Linked DNA regions of Homo sapiens: all the other regions are linked to region 1. Evidence: promoter capture Hi-C in human tissues and cell types (Jung and others, 2019). All regions are on one chromosome and are shown on one strand. Each heading gives the region's core, a stretch centred on a gene start or on the middle of the fragment in contact. The rest is flanking DNA. Distances are from core to core; before and after follow the strand shown.

The links. Contacts are between HindIII fragments. The study calls those that stand out against the background at their distance.
Region 2: a fragment that was not itself captured here is called in contact with the fragment with the promoter of CDC25A in region 1 in 2 of the 25 tissues and cell types used here (aorta and mesendoderm cells).
Region 3: a contact is called between a fragment that was not itself captured here and the fragment with the promoter of CDC25A in region 1, in 1 of the 25 tissues and cell types used here (pancreas).
Region 4: the fragment with the promoter of FBXW12 here is called in contact with the fragment with the promoter of CDC25A in region 1 in 5 of the 25 tissues and cell types used here (IMR-90 fibroblasts, bladder, heart left ventricle and 2 more).
Region 5: a fragment that was not itself captured here is called in contact with the fragment with the promoter of CDC25A in region 1 in 5 of the 25 tissues and cell types used here (adrenal gland, aorta, bladder and 2 more).
Region 6: the fragment with the promoter of SPINK8 here is called in contact with the fragment with the promoter of CDC25A in region 1 in 1 of the 25 tissues and cell types used here (IMR-90 fibroblasts).

The regions. Positions count from the first base shown.
Region 1 is chr3:48,186,799-48,189,945 of GRCh38, reverse strand. CDC25A (cell division cycle 25A) reads left to right here and starts at 1,529. Exons shown (of 15, transcript NM_001789.3): 1 at 1,529-2,168. The coding sequence starts at 1,999. RefSeq lists a silencer at 1,863-2,072 and an enhancer at 1,816-2,444. The HindIII fragment of the contact is 16,525 bases long and covers 1-3,147 here.
Region 2 is chr3:47,936,700-47,939,846 of GRCh38, reverse strand. All of the region lies in intron 3 of MAP4 (microtubule associated protein 4), which reads left to right. Among named protein-coding and RNA genes, the nearest start is that of MAP4, 78 kb to the left of the region's middle. RefSeq lists a silencer at 702-902. The HindIII fragment of the contact is 4,708 bases long and covers 1-3,147 here.
Region 3 is chr3:47,981,462-47,984,608 of GRCh38, reverse strand. The region is part of intron 2 of MAP4 (microtubule associated protein 4); the gene reads left to right. Among named protein-coding and RNA genes, the nearest start is that of MAP4, 33 kb to the left of the region's middle. The HindIII fragment of the contact is 4,461 bases long and covers 1-3,147 here.
Region 4 is chr3:48,370,322-48,373,468 of GRCh38, reverse strand. FBXW12 (F-box and WD repeat domain containing 12) reads right to left here and starts at 1,250. Exons shown (of 11, transcript NM_207102.2): 1 at 1,149-1,250; 2 at 612-785; 3 at 124-161. The coding sequence starts at 701. The HindIII fragment of the contact is 16,322 bases long and covers 1-3,147 here.
Region 5 is chr3:48,030,746-48,033,892 of GRCh38, reverse strand. It overlaps a transcript of MAP4 not described here. Among named protein-coding and RNA genes, the nearest start is that of MAP4, 16 kb to the right of the region's middle. The HindIII fragment of the contact is 3,193 bases long and covers 34-3,147 here.
Region 6 is chr3:48,332,001-48,335,147 of GRCh38, reverse strand. SPINK8 (serine peptidase inhibitor Kazal type 8 (putative)) reads left to right here and starts at 1,487. Exons shown (of 8, transcript NM_001080525.3): 1 at 1,487-1,613; 2 at 2,677-2,782. RefSeq lists a silencer at 942-1,142. The HindIII fragment of the contact is 10,965 bases long and covers 1-3,147 here.

The DNA.
Region 1 (3,147 bases), core at 280-2,779:
GTAGAGCCGGGGTTTCACCATGTTAGCCAGGATGGTCTCGATCTCCTGACCCCGTGATCCGCCCGCCTCGGTCTCCCAAAGTGCTGGGATTACAGGCGTGAGCCACCGCTCCCGGCCTGTTGAGCCAAGTATTAAACCACATAAAACACAGGAGGAGAGGAAAGTATTCAGAGATACGACAGGGAGAACTATTTGAAACAGTGGGACCACAGACCATGTGAACTGTGCAGAGAGGCCTAAATAGCCTGGGGTTTCTGGAGGGAAGGGAGGTTCCTGGGTGGTGGAGCACTGGTGCACAGAAAAGGAGATGAATCCTGAGAGAGAGGTTCCTCACTGTGAAGGGTCTGGTGTTGGGGCCAAAGGTTTGGGGTTTCCACCTGTCCAGCATGGCTTTTCAAACTGTAGGGTTTTTTTTTTTTGAGTGGGGGGCAGGGGGTGTCTCACTTTGTTGCCCAGGCTGGTCTCAAATTCGTGGGCTCAGGCAATCCTCCCACCTCGCCCTCCCAAAGTGCTGGGATGATAGGCGTGAGCCACTAAGCCCAGCAGTAGGTTGCAATTAAATCATGCACTTATGGCCCTCAAAATCCGTCTAGGAGCTGCCACAGGTTCGGCGCTGTAAAAGTAAATATGCCCACTTAGAAAATGGGGATAATTCCTATGTCACAGAGTTGTAAAGATTAAATGAATTAATACAGATTAACACACTGGGAACAGTGTCAAGTGCATAAGCATTATGTAAACTTTAGCTATTATTTGCTATTATTGTGTTTGCTGTTATTTCTCTCTAGGAGCTCCCAGGGGGCTAAGAAGTGGTGGGAAAGAAAGAAATGATTCTAAGAGCATCCAATAAGGGCTAGAATGGAAGTGAGCAAAAAATGCTGAGGCCCACAGCACAGGTTGTACTGCGGGGTTCAAATCCCATGAGGCCAGCAGCACCCAGGGTCTGTGAGCCCTCCAGAGTTGGGCCCTGGTGGTCGAGTCCAGTCCTGGGGGTCATTGCATTCCCTCCCTCATTATAAAATGGGGCCTGGAGGCCCGGGGCGGAAGAAAGGGGTCCACAATACTGCACGGTTAGAGGCCGAGCCAAGGCTGGATCCGGCCAGACCTCCACAGGTCTTCCTTAGCCTCCACATTGCCTCAGAGTGTGGGGCGCCCGGCTGGGGGCGAGGTAGCGGAGGCCCAAAGGGGGCCGAAGCTAACTGGACGGCAGCTCGCGATGGGAACTACGCTTCCCAGCATGCGACGGGGCAAAGGGGCCTTTCAGCCGCGAGCAGCGCCTCGCAGGTTCTGCTGGGAGTTTTCATTGACCTCTGCTCCCCCTCTCATTTTGATCCCCGCTCTTCTGCTCTGGGCTCCGCCCCCTTCTGAGAGCCGATGACCTGGCAGAGTCCCGCGAGCCGCTTTCTTCTTCCCCTCTCATTGGCCCAGCCTAGCTGCCATTCGGTTGAGAGGAGGAGAAGTTGCTTACTGATTGGTGGATTCCGTTTGGCGCCAACTAGGAAAGGGGGGCGGGGCAGCAGCTGGCCCCACTGAGCCGCTATTACCGCGAAAGGCCGGCCTGGCTGCGACAGCCTGGGTAAGAGGTGTAGGTCGGCTTGGTTTTCTGCTACCCGGAGCTGGGCAAGCGGGTGGGAGAACAGCGAAGACAGCGTGAGCCTGGGCCGTTGCCTCGAGGCTCTCGCCCGGCTTCTCTTGCCGACCCGCCACGTTTGTTTGGATTTAATCTTCAGGTTGCCGGCGCCCGCCCGCCCGCTGGCCTCGCGGTGTGAGAGGGAAGCACCCGTGCCTGTGGCTGGTGGCTGGCGCCTGGAGGGTCCGCACACCCGCCCGGCCGCGCCGCTTGCCCGCGGCAGCCGCGTCCCTGAACCGCGGAGTCGTGTTTGTGTTTGACCCGCGGGCGCCGGTGGCGCGCGGCCGAGGCCGGTGTCGGCGGGGCGGGGCGGTCGCGGCGGAGGCAGAGGAAGAGGGAGCGGGAGCTCTGCGAGGCCGGGCGCCGCCATGGAACTGGGCCCGGAGCCCCCGCACCGCCGCCGCCTGCTCTTCGCCTGCAGCCCCCCTCCCGCGTCGCAGCCCGTCGTGAAGGCGCTATTTGGCGCTTCAGCCGCCGGGGGACTGTCGCCTGTCACCAACCTGACCGTCACTATGGACCAGCTGCAGGGTCTGGGCAGGTAAGGAGAGACCGGCGGGCGGTGCTCCGGGCCCCTGGCCTCGGTGTCGGCCTCGGAGAGATCAGGCCAGGAAACGGACCGGGAGAAGGGCGAGACCCGTCCGTCCGGGTTCGCCGCTCGGGGACAGCCGGGCTAGGGCCTGCCATGTGCACCCCCGCCCGGGCGGAATGTTGGGCGGGAGAGGCCGTCGGGACCTTCCAGGGGAAGAGGTGGAGATCCTTGGGCCTAAGCCCGAGCCAGGCCCACCTTCACCCCTTTCGGATTGCTCCGTACTCTCCTTCTATCTCTATCCCTGGAAGCTCTTTGGAATCTACCCCCGCGGGGAAAATCAGGCTCTTCTAGGCACTCACTTTCACCCTTTGCTAAACCATCCTCAGGATCTTCGTTTGCTGTGATCTTTGTTCCTTCTCAACAAAGGACCATGGCATTTTCTTTCCTGGCGTTTATGTAAAATCATCTCAGTCCCTCGCCCTGTGCACATTCCTGATGTCCACTCTGCTGCTTTCCTAAGGCCAGGTCTTTTTACCCAACTTTCAGAAAGCTTCCTGGGCTTTTCCTGATAGCAAAAAATGCATCCCACGGTGTTTCCCGCGGAAGAGCTACTTTCCCTTCAATCTCTGGCATCCCGTTTGCTAAGCACATGTCTTGTGCGTTTCCCAACTTCTGAAAAGCAGAAAGTGTCCTGTTCAACTTTCATCCCGACTCTGTCTCAGTACTTAGAACACATGCTTTTATTTTAGGAAATACCCCAACATTTGCCATAGCCATCATAACCTGCAATGTGGTCCAAGGCCATGCCCACCCACTCCTTTTTTCTCCTTTGCCCAAGTGCTAATTGGGTGTTCAGAGTGGCAAAGTGGGATCTTTGCCACTTGTGGTGTGGCCTAGAAATGGTTTCTGGCAGCCTGGCTGCTTCTTAATCTCATGGCCTATCTCCTGCATGTGACCTTTTAATTATATCCTATAAATCATTCATGGT
Region 2 (3,147 bases), core at 426-2,925, 250 kb after region 1:
AAAATGAAAAAAACAACAACAACAAAAAACAGACTTTCATGCTCCTTCTCCAGGAGGGGTGAGGAAAATGTACCCATTTCTCTGATTAAAAACTTATTTTTTGATCAAGAGGTGGTTGTTTAAAAAAAAAAAAAAAACTATTTCTTTACAGTTTCTTACCATGAGTAAGAAATATAAGCAGAATCAGAGTTTTTAATGTCTATCTTAGAAATGATAGGCTATTGTTTAAATTATTTTGGAATTCCTTATGCTTTTTTAAAAAAAAACATTATGTCACCAACCTTATGCTCTTTATAATAAATGCAAATCACTTTCCAAGAAGTTTGGTGTATAATGTGAATTTAACTTACATCATTTAGCCCAAATAATGATCTTGTGATAATTTGATAGCAACTTATTTATTGAATACTATTCTGTCTCATGCAGTTAGCTAGGCATTGTGAGGAAATAAAAGTAGTAAAAGCACAGTATTTTCTTTTTAAACATTAATGAGTTCACTTACTAACATGTAAAATAATGAAAATTTTAATGATAAATAGAATACTTAAAGGCTTTTTAATTTTTTAAAAAAAGACTAACAGGAAAACATGTGCTTAAGGACTAAATTCTTTCCTAGTAACAGTGAATGGTAAAAGAGCTAAGTAGTGGAAAATGAGCATTAAAGTCATCAGAGAGGTTCTGTGGAAGCTATGAGGCCCAAGTGGTGGCTTTGGAATTGGATCAGGGAGGAGACATTTCAAGCAGGGGATCAGTGATCTCATGAGCAAAGGCACAGGGGCAGAGTGGAGCACAGGCTCTAGCAGGAGCCATGAGGGGACAGCATACTTACTGCATGACTTTCCTGTTGGAGTAGTAGGGAACAAGCCTGGGATGGGTTCATTTGATGGGTAAGGAAGGCTTTAGATTAGCATCTAACATTTGCCGTAATAATGTTTTGTGTTGTTGAAGCCCTAAACACATCGTCTTTATAAGCTTTGAAATAGATGGATAGGTGCACCTTCTCTAAATAGGATGTGACTTGAAGAATGTTTTTTACTTAACCATAATTTTAGAACTGAACAAGTATCCTTAGAGGTCATTACTGTGACTAAGAGAGATGAAAGGGCTGTCCCAAATTTACATGGTTAGCCTGTGGCAAAGCCAGGGTTAAGAACTCAAATATGGGCCTGGTATAGAGGCTCATGCATGTAATCCTAGCACTTTGGGAGGTCAAATCCGGAGGATTGCTTGAGCCCAGTTGTTCAACGCCAGCCTGGGCAATGTATGGAGACCCTGTCTCTACCCCCAAAATAATAACAATAATAAATTAGAAGGGCATAGTGGCACACATCTGTGTCCTTAGCTACTGGAGAAGCTGAGAGGGGAGGATTGCTTGAGCCCAGGAAGTTGAGGCCGCAGTGAGCTGTGATTGCGCCACTATACCTGGGAGACAGTCAGACCTTGTCTCAATTAACAATTCCCTTTTTTCTTTTTTTCCTTTGAGACAGAATCTCGCTCTGTCGCCCAGGCTGGGTGCAGTGGCACAGTCTCGGTTCACTGCAACCTCCACCTCCCAGGTTCAAACAATTCTCCTGTCTCAGCCTCCCGAGTAGGATTACAGGTGTGCGCCACCATGCGTGGCTAATTTTTGTATTTTTAGTAGAGACAGCGTTTCATCATGTTGGCCAGGCTGGTCTCTAACTCCTGACCTCAAGTGATCTGCCTGCCTCTGCCTTCCCAAAGTGCTGGGATTACAGGCATGAGCCACCACACCCAGCAGAGATCTTGTCTCAATAAAATAAAAGTAAGAACTCAAATATGTCTGCTGGTGCCCAGCTGTTCTCTCCCTCCTTTCCCTCTATAGATTTTTTAGAATATTTAATAATAATAATAAAAGAAGAAAAATGGCTGGGTGCAGTGGTTCATGCCTGTAATCCCAGCACTTTGGGAGACTGAGGCGGGCGGATCACCTGAGGTCAGGAGTTCGAGACCATCCTGGCCAACATGGTGAAACCTCGTCTCTACTAAAAATACAAAAATTAGCCGGGCATGGTGGCAGGCGCCTGTAATCCCAGCTACTCAGGAGGCTGAGGCAGGAGAATCGCTTGAACCCGGGAGGCAGAGGTTGCAGTGAGCTGAGATTGTGCTATCGCGCTCCAGCCTGGGGGACAAGAGTGAGACTTCGTCTCAAAAAAAAAAAAAAAAAAAAAAGAAGAAGAAAAAGGAAAAGCTGTTCTTGAAGGTAGCCAAAGGTTCTGAGATTGATTCCTACCTTCAACCTGAGAACATCAGAAACATCTTTCTCCTATAATTTTCTGATTAATTTCACTGCAGTAATCCAGAATGGGGTTGTTTTATTACATTTGTGTTTTGTGATTCAAGAACTAAGACAAATATATTAATCCTATGAAAAAACATATTGCTTTTAATATTTTTACTAATTTAAAAAGGCGTTTATCCAAGTTTCATCACCTTTTCTTCCCCTCTGCTCAGTGTATATGCCACTTGTGAACCTTCCCGAGGATGCTGTGGTTTGTTCTTTAATTCATCGTCATTTTTCTGGCTTAGACAAGTAATGAGTACTTTCATCTACTTAAATGACCAAGTATTTCATCTGTCTAATAACTGCTGAGTCTTATTTGTAAGTTATGTTTTACCAGATTTTTGAGAATTATAAAGATGAATGGATAAGTCAAAAGTCTCAGAATTAATTTTAAAATTAAAATGGGCTTCAGAAATTATGTAGCACAATTTTTTTTTTTAATTCTGGATGAGTAGTGTAGCTCTAACAGTCTTAAGGTCACACCCAAAGTTAAGTGGCAGAGTCAAGATTAGAACCTGGGTCTCCTGATTCTGTTTTCTTTCTTTTCTTTTTTTTTTTTTTTTTGAGACGGAGTTTCGCTCTTGTCACCCAAGCCGGAGTGCAGTGGCGCGATCTTGGCTCACTGCAACCTCCACCTCCCGGGTTCAAGCAGTTCTCTTGCCTCAGCCTCCCGAGTAGCTGGGATTACAGGAGCCCGCTACCATGCCTGGCTAATTTTATATTTTTAGTTGAGACGGGGTTTCTCCATGTTGGCCAGGCTGGTCTTGAACTCTTGACCTCAGGTGATCTGCCTACCTTGGCTTCCCAAAGTGTTGGGATTACAGGCGCCAGCCACCGTGCCTGGG
Region 3 (3,147 bases), core at 483-2,982, 210 kb after region 1:
CTGCTCTCCCCACCCTCCCAAAGTGCTAGGATTACAGGCATGAGCCACCACGCCCAGCCTCTTTACTGTAAAATTTATATTTTTCTCCTTGTAATGAATAAGTAATTTGTGAGGAGATATTTTGAGGCTATGTATGTATCCTGTATCTAATCCAACTTTCACCTACTATTTTAGTATCTAAGCAAATAGCTTTTGAATAATTTTCTGGTTTCCAAGCCAGTTGAAATGTGTTCTGCTGCATCTTATATGAAAGTCACATTTTATGAATCAGAAATTCCCTTTTGCACATTTTAGGTCAAAAATACCAGGGAGGCCGGGCATGGTGACTCACACTTGTAATCCTAGCTCTTTGGGAGGCAGAGGCGGGAAGAGTACTTGAAGCCAGGAGTTTGATACCAGCCCCAGCAACACAGCAAGACTGCATCTCTACAAAGAAAAAAAAAATAAAAAATTAACTGGGTGTGGTGGTAGTCTTAACTACTCAGGAGGCTGAGGCAGGAGGAAAGGCAGGGAGAAAGTAAACAGATATGTGCAAATGAGACTTCCATTATGCATATTATTCGCAATTAAATCTCATTATTTATGCCCTTCACTGGAAAAAAAAATTACCTTTAATTGCACAGATCATTTATAAAAAGACTGTTGGAGTTATGCTCCAAAGCCCACAATGACAGAGATAGTGTGTCAGAGGGACACAGGAGTCAACTGAAAGAGTTCCCAATAGCCAACACTGGAAAAATTTGAGCAACAAAATAAATAAAGTAGCATTGAATTAAAGCTCAGTGGACGAGGCTGATCATGGTGGCTCACGCCTGTAGTCCCAGCTACTTGGGAGACTGAGGCAGGAGTACCACTTGAGCCCAGGAGTTTGAGACCAGCCTGAGCAACTTAGTGAGACCCTGTCTTTATACAAATAGAATTGTCTGGGCGTGGTGGCTCACTCCTGTAATCCCAGCACTTTGGGAGGCCGAAGCAGGTGGATCACCTGAGGTCAGGAGTTAGAGACCAGCCTGGCCAACACGGTGAAATCCTGTTTCTACTAAAAATACAAAAAATTAGCCGGGCATGGTGGCACATGCCTGTAGCCCCAGCTACTCAGGAGGCTGAGGCATGAGAATCGCTTGAACCTGGGAGGCAGAGGTTGCAGTGAGCTGAGATTGTGCCACTGCACTCCAGCCTGGGTGACAGAGGGAGACTCAGTCTCAAATTAAATAAATAAATAAATAAATAAATAAGCCAACTGTGGCGGTGCACACCTGTTGTCACCATATACTTGGGAGGCTGAGGGAGGAGGATCATTTGAACCCAGCATTTTGAGGTTACAGTGAGGTGTGATTATACCACTGCATTCCAGCCTGGGCAACAGAGCAAAACCCTCTCTCTTAAAAATTAAGTCAAAATCTTTGCCGGGTGCCATGGCTCATGCCTGTAATTCTATCACTTTGGGAGGCTGAGGCAGGCAGATCACTTGAGGTCGGGAGTTTGACATCAGCCTGGCCAATATGGTGAAAACCTGTCTCTAATGAAGATAAAAAAATTAGCTGAGAGTGGTGGCGCACGCCTGTAGTCCCAGCTACCAGCTACTTGGGATGTTGAGACAGGAGAATTGCTTGAACCCGGGAGACAGAGGTTGCAGTGAGCCAAGATTGCGCCACTGCACTCCAGTCTTGGCGATAGAGCTAGACTCTGTCTCAAACAAAAAACAAAGAAAACTCCCTTCATTTTCATGTAATCTTATTTATTTCCTCAAGAAGGGTAGATCTTTTAAGACTTTATTCTTTGCAGTTACAAACATACAATAAAAAATTTAGTGGCTTTACTTTCATTTGATTCCATTTTACAAATGGAATCAAATCGTATGAATTTTAACTTGCTTTTTTTAGTTTATTATCTTAGAAAACTTTCTGTCAGTATATATCAAGCTTTCTTTTTAACTTGGTCTAAAGTAGTGGTCTTAACTTTTGGTCACATACTCAGAATTCTGATAAATTCTGTCTCTTTGTACATTAAGTTTACATCTAAAATTTTGTAGCAAAAGTTTAGTTGTAAAACATGTAATTTTGAGAATGTTTTACTTTTGCCACATAAAAATAAGTTACCTCATTCTGCTAAATGTATCCAAATGCTTCTAAATATATAGCATTTTGGTTTCCATCATCTAGTTTAAAAATATACGAACAAGCTGTTCTTTATCATTGGAAATTTAAATTCTTCTTTTGAGTCCTTGAACTTTTATTTCCATAACATGTCTCAGACTTTTATCCTAATGTAATATATTTTTATGCTTAAAAGTTTTTTCTTGATTGTGCTAATATGTTTCTGCTACTAAATATGTATGTAAACTTAAATTTTAATTTTTAAAGTTCCTGTGACAAAGGTTCTGTGTTTTAACTTGGTCCAGAGGAAATTTATCAGTCTATTGCATGTATTATGTTTTTTTTAAATCTCCCTTCATTTTCACTTAATCCTATTTGTTTCCTCAAGAAGAGTAGAGATGGGCTTTACTGTGTTGACCAGGCTGGTCTCGAATTCCTGGCCTCAAGTGATCTGCTCACCTTGGCTTCCCAAATTGCTGGGATTACAGGCATGAGCCACTGTGCCCGGCCAACATAGGTTGTAATTTTTGATGTTATTACTATACAAGTTGAATTTTATTGGAAATGCTTTTCTTATGAGATGATGGGGTCTGTTATTTTTCTCAATTAAATCATGGGTCTGTGGATCAATATTTCTTTCTCTGATGAAATAGGATTGGCAATTTTTCCTGTTTTTGTAGCTATCATAGTGAAGAAACCCTAATCACATAGGTAAATATATGGGAATAAAGCTTTTTTTTTTTTTTGGGAGATGGAGTCTTGCTCTGTCGCCCAGACTGGAGTGCAGTGGCACGATCTCAGCTCACTGCAACCTCTGCCTCCCAGGTTCAAGCTATTCTTGTGCTTCAGCCTCTAGAGTAGTTGTGATTCACACGCCACTATGCCTGGCTAATTTTTTGTATTTTAGTAGATATGGGGTTTCACCGCATTGGCCAGGCAGGTCTCGAACTCCTGACCTCAAGTGATCCACCTGCCTCAGCCTCCCAAAGTGCTGGGATTATAGGCTTGAGCCACTGCACCTGGCCAGGTTCTTTTTTATTATTATTATTTT
Region 4 (3,147 bases), core at 1-2,500, 180 kb before region 1:
TACTCACACTAACTTTCCTGTGTATATCTCACAACACAGCCACACAGGCCTTGGGACACAGCATGGGTGCGCAGTCAGATGATCTCCTCTCCCCTTCCCTCCTTGCCCTTTCCCTTCCCTTACCTCCACAGGTAATCACTGTCTGCAATCCTATTCCAATGCTATGGGAGAGAAAGGAAGAGACAAGCAGGCAATCAGTTACATCAGAGAGCAAGGGTAATCCTCTGCTATTATTTGTTCTGGGAGCTGGGCCCGCACAGGTTAATCAGATGGGATTCCAGCTCTCAAAGCACTCTCAGTGTGGGGAGATAAGGAAATGGTAACAACAGAGACCTATCACTGCTAATACAGGCACTGGGTATTCCCATGAATTCACAGGAAGAAGTGTTGATTTCCTAGGGCTTGAAATGGGAGCCTCAAGGACTGTTTAGTCAGCACAACTCCTGGATATCAGCTTGTCCTTTTCGTTTAACAGAATATGAGGCCCTCAGTATGAAGAATGCTAACCCCCAAAGCCTCAGTGTAACCCTCTGCTATTCTGCAAAGTGGTGCTCAAACTGGTCGAGAGAAGCAGCGGGCTTGGGGGGCAGTGGGAGGTGGAAGGCCTTTACCTTGTTCACCTGGGAAACCTGCAGCAAGCCGAACAGGTCCAGGAAAGAGAAGATTCGCTTCAAAGCTAAGTCAGGCAATCGGATCTCCATTTCATGCGGCCTGAACCCACATCCACTTTCCTTTCTCCTCTCCGGGCTGCTCTGAATTTATAGGCTTTGCCAAAGTCTGCAGCACTTGTAAAGATTTTCACCCATGCCCATCTGTGTGCGGTAGAAACAAGCTGCAGGTGTGCAGACTCCCGGGCTGACCTCCACCCCGGCCTCTCCCCTGGGGCCTGATCCACACAGCTGGCAGGCATCCCTACCTAAACCCACTTGTTAGTGCTGTTCATTGTTTAGAGGAGCTCAGCAACACCTGTGCGCTGTGAGCTGGAGGTGCAGAACCTGGGGCAGCCCCAGTTGCAGATGAAGTTGTCAGAACCCTTTAGGAAATGTCACCGAGTGCACTCACTTTGATCAGATCTGAGTGTCTCTATGACTCTATTTAAGTTCCAAACTCCTGGAATTGGAGTCTGCTTGCCCTGTGTCTGTGCCTACCTTGGGATCTTGAATCTGGTGAGTGGGGCTCATCTCTCAGCGCCAGCATGGCCTCTGGGTTTCTACCTTCTCGCATTTAACTTTGCAGTGGAGGAGAAAGAACGTGCCAAGCTGGCTTCTCCACAGAGGTCCGCCCAAAGGGAGCAGGCCTTGTCTGGGATGGCTCTCCCAGCTGGTGGCTTTCCCTGGGATGTGACGCTTTCCCACAGTTACAGATCTCCCAAGAACCTGACAACTCATTCTGGGATTTTCTAAAGACCGTGTCATAGCCTGGGTGTTTGTGTCCTCTCAAAATTCCTACGTTGAAATTCTAACCCTTGGTGTGATTGGAGGTGGGGGGCCTTTGGGAGGTAAGTGGGTCACAGGCAGAGTCCTTATGATGGGACCAGTGACCTTATAAAAGAGACCCCAGAACGCTCTCTAGCCCTGTTCATATCATGCGAGGACATGAGAAGGTGTCAGCTGCAACCTGGAAGAAGGCCCACACCAGAACCTGACCGTGCTGACAGGTGACTCTTGGACTTCTCTCCTCCAAAATTGTGAGAAATAAATTTGTTTGTAAGCCACCCAGTCTATGGTACTTTGCTGCAGCATAAGACAGGGGTCCCTCTGTGAGGCTCAGTGGCCAACCCTTCTTAAAACTGCTGCCTCCAGGCAGACACACGGGAGTGGTTGTCGGGAGTCCCATTTATGATACAGTAGTAAGAGAGAGGAAAAATACAAATTGACATGGTGAGGAAATAAAAAGGAAAAGCAAAGACCAAGAAGCACCTAGAGGGGCGTGGGGAAAGGCGAGTCAAGGGGTGTGTGGAGAGGAGTGAGAAAAATACAAGGGTAAAAGATTTGTATTCCATAAATAGGAAATAATGCAGAGAGAGCCAGAGCCGTGGAAGGACACAGGAAGACAGAAAGCTTGGAACGGACTCTATTGTAGAGGAACAGAATTAATGCAAAGATATAGAAGGCTGAGAAATAAAACACTTTAAAATATGACAAGGGAAGAGAAGAAACAGTAAAATAAAGGATATTTTAAAAGTATTAAAGCACAAATATTATAAAATACACAGATAGGAAATATAACTGTAAGTGGACTGAGACAGAGTAGGAATAAAATGGAAAAGAGGACAGATGAGAAAGAGGCAAACATAAGGAAACTGAAGCAAATTGCCGAATGAGTGAATGAATGAATTTGAAATAGAGGAACAGAGGCCAGGCACAGTGGCTCATGCCCGTAATCCCAGCACTTGGGGAGGCCGAGGCGGGTGGATCACCAGGTCAGGAGTTTGAGACCAGCTTGGCCAACATAGTGAAACCCTGTCTCTACTAAAAATACAACAAATTAGCTGGGCGTGGTGGCGGGTGCCTGTAATCCCAGCTACTTGGGAGGCTGAGGCAGGAGAATTGCTTGAAGCTGGGAGGTGGAGGTTGCAGTGAGCTGAGATTGCGCTACTGCACTCCAGCCTGGGCGACAGTGCGAGACTCCATCTCAACAACAACAACAAAAAAAATAGAGGAACAGGAAGGTGTGTTGGGGGGTGGTGGTGGCGGGGTGCTACCAGAAAAGCGGCAGAGAAAGACACATTGCAACAATAGATGAAGACAAATCTAAATGTCACAAGAGTTAAGAGATGTAAAATTTGAGAGATGTGAAATGGTAACTGCGTAATAGTCTAAGCAAAAGATAAGATGCAGGTGAGAGAATGGTCCGGACATTGTCTAGGAGAAAGTAGATTAAAGCAGGCAGCTGGGGAAACCTGAGAAGAGGGATCCATAAGGAGTTGGGCAGCCTGAGAGTAGGACAGAGAGGGAGGGACGACACAGCATGGGAAGTAAAGGGGGCGTAGCAAGGGGAGAAGTAACAGCACACCTTTCATGGCGCCTTCTGCAGGCAAGGCACCCGTCTAAACAATTTACAGGGGCTCATCTATTTAATCCTCACAACGGCTAGATGAGGTAAGTCCTATTACTGGCCACCTTGCCAGGGTGCTCCGTGTTCTCT
Region 5 (3,147 bases), core at 381-2,880, 160 kb after region 1:
GGTGGCTTACACCTGTAATCCCAGCACTTTGGGAGGTTGAGGCGGGCAGATCACCTAGGATCAGGAGTTCGAAACCAGCCTGGCCAACATAGTGAAAAAATCCGTCTTTACTAAAAATACAAAAACTAGCTGGCTGTGGTGGCGTGCACCTATAATCCCAGCTACTCTGGAGGCTGAGGCAGGAGAATCACTTGAACCTCGGAGGCGGAGGTTGCAGTGAGCTGAGATCCTACCACTGCACTCAAGCCTGGGTGACAGAGCGAGACTCCCGTTTCAAAAAAATTAAAAATAAAAATAAAAAAATTCTTAAGGACAGTTTGAAACTGGAGAGAAATCATAATGTACTTTAAAATGGTTAATTGTATGTTATGTAAACTTCACTTCAATTAAAAAAATTAAGGACAGCTGGAAAGAAAACTAATATACTTTTCTGTTTGTACAAAATAAAATGGTAGATTTAAGAAGCTTTAACCAGGGCTTCAACTTTCACATCATAGATACTAACTGTAGAAGCATAGTGCGATAACTGATAGTTAAATAGAAGATAAAAATCCACATGAGGAGGGCATGCCATTTTAAAAAGGAGAGCTATGTGATGCTATTTCCAATACATAGATATAGCTGGACTTACCTTCTTTATCCCTGAGAAACGAAAGCATTCTAAGTTAGCAGAGGAAATGATGATCAGAATGATAATACCTCCTACCTTTTCCCCTTGCTTCCTGATTTGGGATATAGGACAGAAAAGAAATTCTACTTTTAGTTGAGAACTCAGGGATGACTTTGAACAAATATATTTGTTAATCTCCTTGGACTTTTCTCACTTTTAAAATAAGGAGGTTGGATTCAAATGCCCTTTCTAAAGTTTTGTGATTTGGTTGGAAATATTAGATGTGCACATCACCAAGTTACTTTGTTTTGTTTCTGTGTACATGAATAAGCTTTTATTAGACTTGGTCACTGTTGTCTCTCTGTGATCAACAAGGGTAAGTTAGCTTCTAAGAGTACCAGTGGTAGAACTTTAAGATTTGAAGCTTTAACGAGAGTCAGCTAGTTTGCAGTGATTAGAGACTTGTAAGTTAATTGATATACACACTTTTGTCTATATTTATTAAGTTTCTCAGGGGAATTGTAGATTATTTCAGAGTGCAGTTTTAGGTCGTGGATCAGATTTAAGTTGGAAGTAAATAATGGTTATTACTAGAATTTTTTGTTTTTGTTTGTTTTTGAGAAGGAGTCTTTCTCTGTCACCCAGGCTGGAGTGCAGTGCCACAATCTCAGCTCACTGCAACCTCTGTCTCCTGGGTTCAAGCGATTCTCCTGCCTCAGCCTCCTGAGTAGCTGGGATTACAGGTGCCTGCCACCACACCTGGCTAATTTTTTTTTTTTTGAGACGGAGTCTTGCTCTCTTGCCCAGGCTGGAGTGTAGTGGTGCGATCTTGGGCTAACTGCAACCTCCGCCTCCGAGATTCAAGTAATTCTCCTGCCTGAGTCTCCCTAGTAGCTGGGATTACAGGCGCACACCACCATGCCCATCTAATTTTTTTATTATTTTTTTTTAGTAGAAATGCAGTTTCACCATGTTGGCCAGGCCGCTCGCGAACTCCTGACCTCAATTTTCATACATTATTATTAACTAAAGTTCATAGTTTATTTAGATTTCCTTAATTTTTACCTAAATACCTTTTTCTGTTCTAGGATCTCATCTAGGATACCACATTATGTTTAGTTATCATACTTAGCTTTCTCTTGGCTATGACAGTTTCTTACACCTCCCTTGTTTTTGATGACTTTGACAGTTTTGAGGAGTACTGGTCTGATATTTTGTAGAGTGTCCTTCAGTTGGGAGTTGTCTGATCTTTTTCTCATGATTAGACAGAGGTTATGCTTTTTAGAAGGAAGATCACAGAGGTAAAGTGCCACTCTTATCACATTATATCAAGGGTGCATACTATCAAATCATGTCAGCATGATTTATGTCTGTGTGTGTGTGTGTGTGTATGTGTGTGTGTATGTGTGTGTTTTGCTTTATCACTCAAGCTGGAGTACAGTGCTGTGATCACAGTTCACTGGAACCTCCTGGACTCGACTCAAGCTTCCTCTCAACTCAGCTTCCCAAATAGCTGGGACCATAGGCACATGCCACCAAGCCCAGCTAATTTTTTTTTGAGAAAGAGTCTTGCTCTGTTGCCCAGGCTGGGTTGCAGTGGCACGATCGTGGCTTACCGCAACCCTGGCCTCCAGGGCCCAAGTGATCCTCCCACCTCAGCCTCCCGGGTAGTTGGGACTACAGGCACGTACCACCATGCCTGGCTAATTTTTTTGTTTTTTTGTTTTTTTTTGAGATGGAGTCTTGCTCTGTCGCCCAGGCTGGAGTGCAGTGGCGCGACCTTGGCTCACTGTAACTTCCGTCTCCTGGGTTCAAGTGATTCTCCTGCCTCGGCCTCCCAAGTAGGTGGGACTACAGGCATGTGCCACCACACCCAGCTAACTTTTTGTATTTTTAGTAGAGACAGGGTTTCACCATGTTAGCCAGGATGATCTCAATCTCCTGACCTTGAGATCCCCCTACTTTGGCTTCCCAAAGTGCTGGGATTACAGGTGTGAGCCACCGCACCCAGCCTAATTTTTGTATTTTTCATAGAGATGGGGTTTCGCCATGTTGCTTGCCTAAGTTGGTGTCAGAACTCCTGGCCTCAAGTGAACCTCCTGCCTTGGCCTGCCAAAGTGCTGGGATTACAGATGTAAGCCATTGCACCCAGCTGATTTATCACTATTGATATTAGTCTTGATCACTTGGCTTAGGTAGTATTTGTCATATTTCTCTTACCCCCCCCTCCCATTTTCATATTGTACTCTTTAGAAGGAGGTCACTATGTGCTATGCACATGTAAAGGATGAAGGGTTATGTTCTACCTCTTGGAAGTGGAGTATCTTGTTTGGAATTCTTCACTGAAGACTTGCTTATTCTCTCTCATTTATTTATTCAGTCTATTGTTTATATTGTTCCAGCTTTGGTCATTGGGAACTTTTTTAGTTGACTCCTGTGTAATTGAGTTACCCCTATCTTTTTTTTTTTTTTTTTTTTTTTTTTGAGATGGAGTCTTACTCTGTCGCCCAGGCTGGAGTGCAGTGGTACAATCTCGG
Region 6 (3,147 bases), core at 238-2,737, 150 kb before region 1:
TAGGCTATGAACCCAGGGAGTCTTGCCCCTGGTGTCCCTCCCAATTTAGGTATATAGCTGTCAACATGGGCTGTTATGTGGGACCCATTCCCCACCACCCTTGCCAGGGCCCCAAGTTTGTAAATAGCTAGGAAGATCGCTCTCCCATTGTGTAAGATGCTCTCCTCCCCTAATTTCTACCCAGTTTACTACCCCCTGCAATACAATCTCCAAGCCTTGGCTCCTTGGCCAGGCCCTTAGAACTGATAACCCAGTATTTTAACAACTGGAACTGAGTCTACAACAACATAATAGATCAGGATGAAAACGAATTTGAGTAAATTAAAGGGAGGCACATGTTCCTATAGTGGCAAACTGGGGCAACAAGTGAACGTCCTTCCACTGCGTTTCCAAAATCCATCTAAAAAAAGACAGACAGAGAGAGGAAGAGGCAGAAAGTCAAAGAGAGAAAGAAAGAAAAAAGGGAAAGAGAGAGGTAGTAAAGAAAAAACAGTGTACCCTATTCCTTTAAAAGCCAAGGTAAATTTAGAACCTATAATTGATAATTAAAGGTCTTCTCCACGACCCTATAATACTCCAATACTACCTTGTTGTCAGTGTAAACAAGGGCGTAGCCCGAAAACACTGAGACCACTGACAACCCATAGCCTTCCTATCAAAAATCCTGAACCCAGTAACCCGTGGATGGCCCAAATGCATTCAATCTGTAGTGGCAACTGCTTTGCTAACAGAATAAAGTAGAAAAATAACCTTTAGAGGAAACCTCATTGTGAGCACACCTCACCAGTTCAGAACAATCCTAAGACCAAAAAAAAAAAAAAAAAAAGGTAGCTTACTAGCTCAAAATTCTTAAAGTATGGGGCTATTCTGTTAGAAAAAGGTGATTTAACACCAACCACTGATAATTCCCTTAACCCAGCAGATTTCCTAACAGGGGATTTAAATCTTAATTGCCATGCAAAGGTCCAACCAGACCTAGGAGGAACTTCCTTTAGGATAGGACGATAGATGGTTCCTCCCAGGCGATTGAGGAAAAAACCACAATGGGTATTCAGTAATTGATAAGGAAACTCTTGTGGAAGCAGAGTTAGGAGAATTGCCTCATAATTGGTCTGCACAAACTGCGAGCTGTTTGCACTCAGCCAAGCCTTAAAGTACTTACAAAAAGAGCAAGCCCATCTTTTTCTCCTCGCTCTCCTTCTCGTAGGAAAAAGGCACATAGGATAAACAGGAGCCATCTCTCATATTTCGTACCCAAAAGGACTTAATCCAGGGCAACAAAATCTTAAGTTCGATAATTAAGGCATATTCCTACAAAGGAAAAGGACAAAGGCCCTAGTGGGCAAAAACTCTATCTCAATCCTGACTCAAAAGGTTACCTACACCCTCTCTGAAACGAATTTGCATAAGAACTGTTGTTTATGAAAATGCATCTTGATGGGGCAACTGGGTTGTTATGAAATACTCAGAAACCCAGCCCAGCTCTAGAACTCACTCCTGAGTGCAAAGGCAATGTCAGGCACGCTGGTAAAGGACCACTAGAATCCAGCAGCCCAGACCCCTTTCTTTGTGGTCAAGAAGGGCAGGAAAACAGGTGCAGGACTGCTACATCGGTGAGTGTAACTAATCTGATAAGCAGAGGTCCGTGGGTGGTTACGCACCCTGAAAAGGAATAAGCATTAGGACCACAGAGGACGCTCTAGGACTAATGCTCATCAGAAAATGACTAGGGGTGCTGGCATCCCTATGTTCTTTTTAAACGTTCCCCCCTCCCAGGCAAAAACGCCCCTAAGATGTATTCTAGAGAATTAGGACCAATTTGACCCTCAGATGCTAAGAAAGAAACGACTTATATTCTTCTGCAGTACCCCTGGCCACAATATCCTCTTCAAGAGGGAGAAACATGCCCTCCAAGGGAAGTATAAATTATAACACCATCTTACAGCTAGACTTCTTTTGTAGAAAATAGGGCAAATGGAGCGAAGTGCCATATGTGCAAACTTTCTTTTCATTAAGAGACAACTCACAATTATGTTAAAAGTGTGATTTATGCCCTACAGGAAGCCCTCAGAATCTACCCCCCTGCCCCGGCGTTCCCCCGGCTCCTTCCCCAACTAATAATGACCCCCCTTCAACACAAACGGTGCCAAAGGAGATAGAGAAAGGGGTAAACAATGAACCAAAGAGTGCCAATATTCCCAGATTATGCCCCCTTGAAGTGGTGGGAGGAGGAGAATTCAGCCCAGAGTGTGTGTACCTTTTTCCCTCTCAGACTTGAAGCAAATTAAAATAGACCTAGGTAAATTCTCAAATAACCCTGATGGCTATATTGATGTTTTACAAGGGTTAGGACAATCCTTTGATCTGACATGGAGAGACATAATGTTACTGCTAGATCAGATACTAACCCCAAATGAGAGAAGTGCCGCTATAACTGCAGCCCAAGAGTTTGGCAATCTCTGGTATCTCAGTCAGGTCAATGATAGGATGACAACAGAGGAAAGAGAACGATTCCCCACAGGCCAGCAGGCAGTTCCCAGTGTAGACCCTCAATGGGACGCAGAATCAGAATGTGGAGATTGGTGCCGCAGACATTTGCTAACTTGCATGCTAGAAGGACTAAGAAAAACTAGGAAGAAGCCTATGAATTATTCAATGATGCCCACTATAACACAGGGAAAGGAAGAAAATCCTACTGCCTTTCTGGAGAGACTAAGGGAGGCATTGAGGAAGCATACCTCTCTGTCATCTGGATCTATTGAAGGCCAACTAATCTTAAAGGGTAAGTTTATCACTCAGCTGCAGACATTAGAAAAAAACTTCAAAATCCGCCTTAGGCCTGGAACAAAACTTAAACTAAGAACTTGGCCTCAGTTTTTATAATAGAGATCAGAAGGAGCAGGCAGAACTGGACAAACGGGATAAAAAGAAGGCCACCGCTTTAGTCATGGCCTTCAGGCAAGTGGACTTTGGAGGCTCTGGAAAAGTGAAAGGCTGGGCAAATCGAATGCCTAATAGGGATTTGATTCCAGTGCGGTCTACAAGGACACTTTAAAAAAGATTGTCCGAATAGAAATAAGCCACCCCCTCATCCATGCCCCTTATTTCAAGGGTATCACTGGAAGGCCCACTGCCCCAGGGGATGAA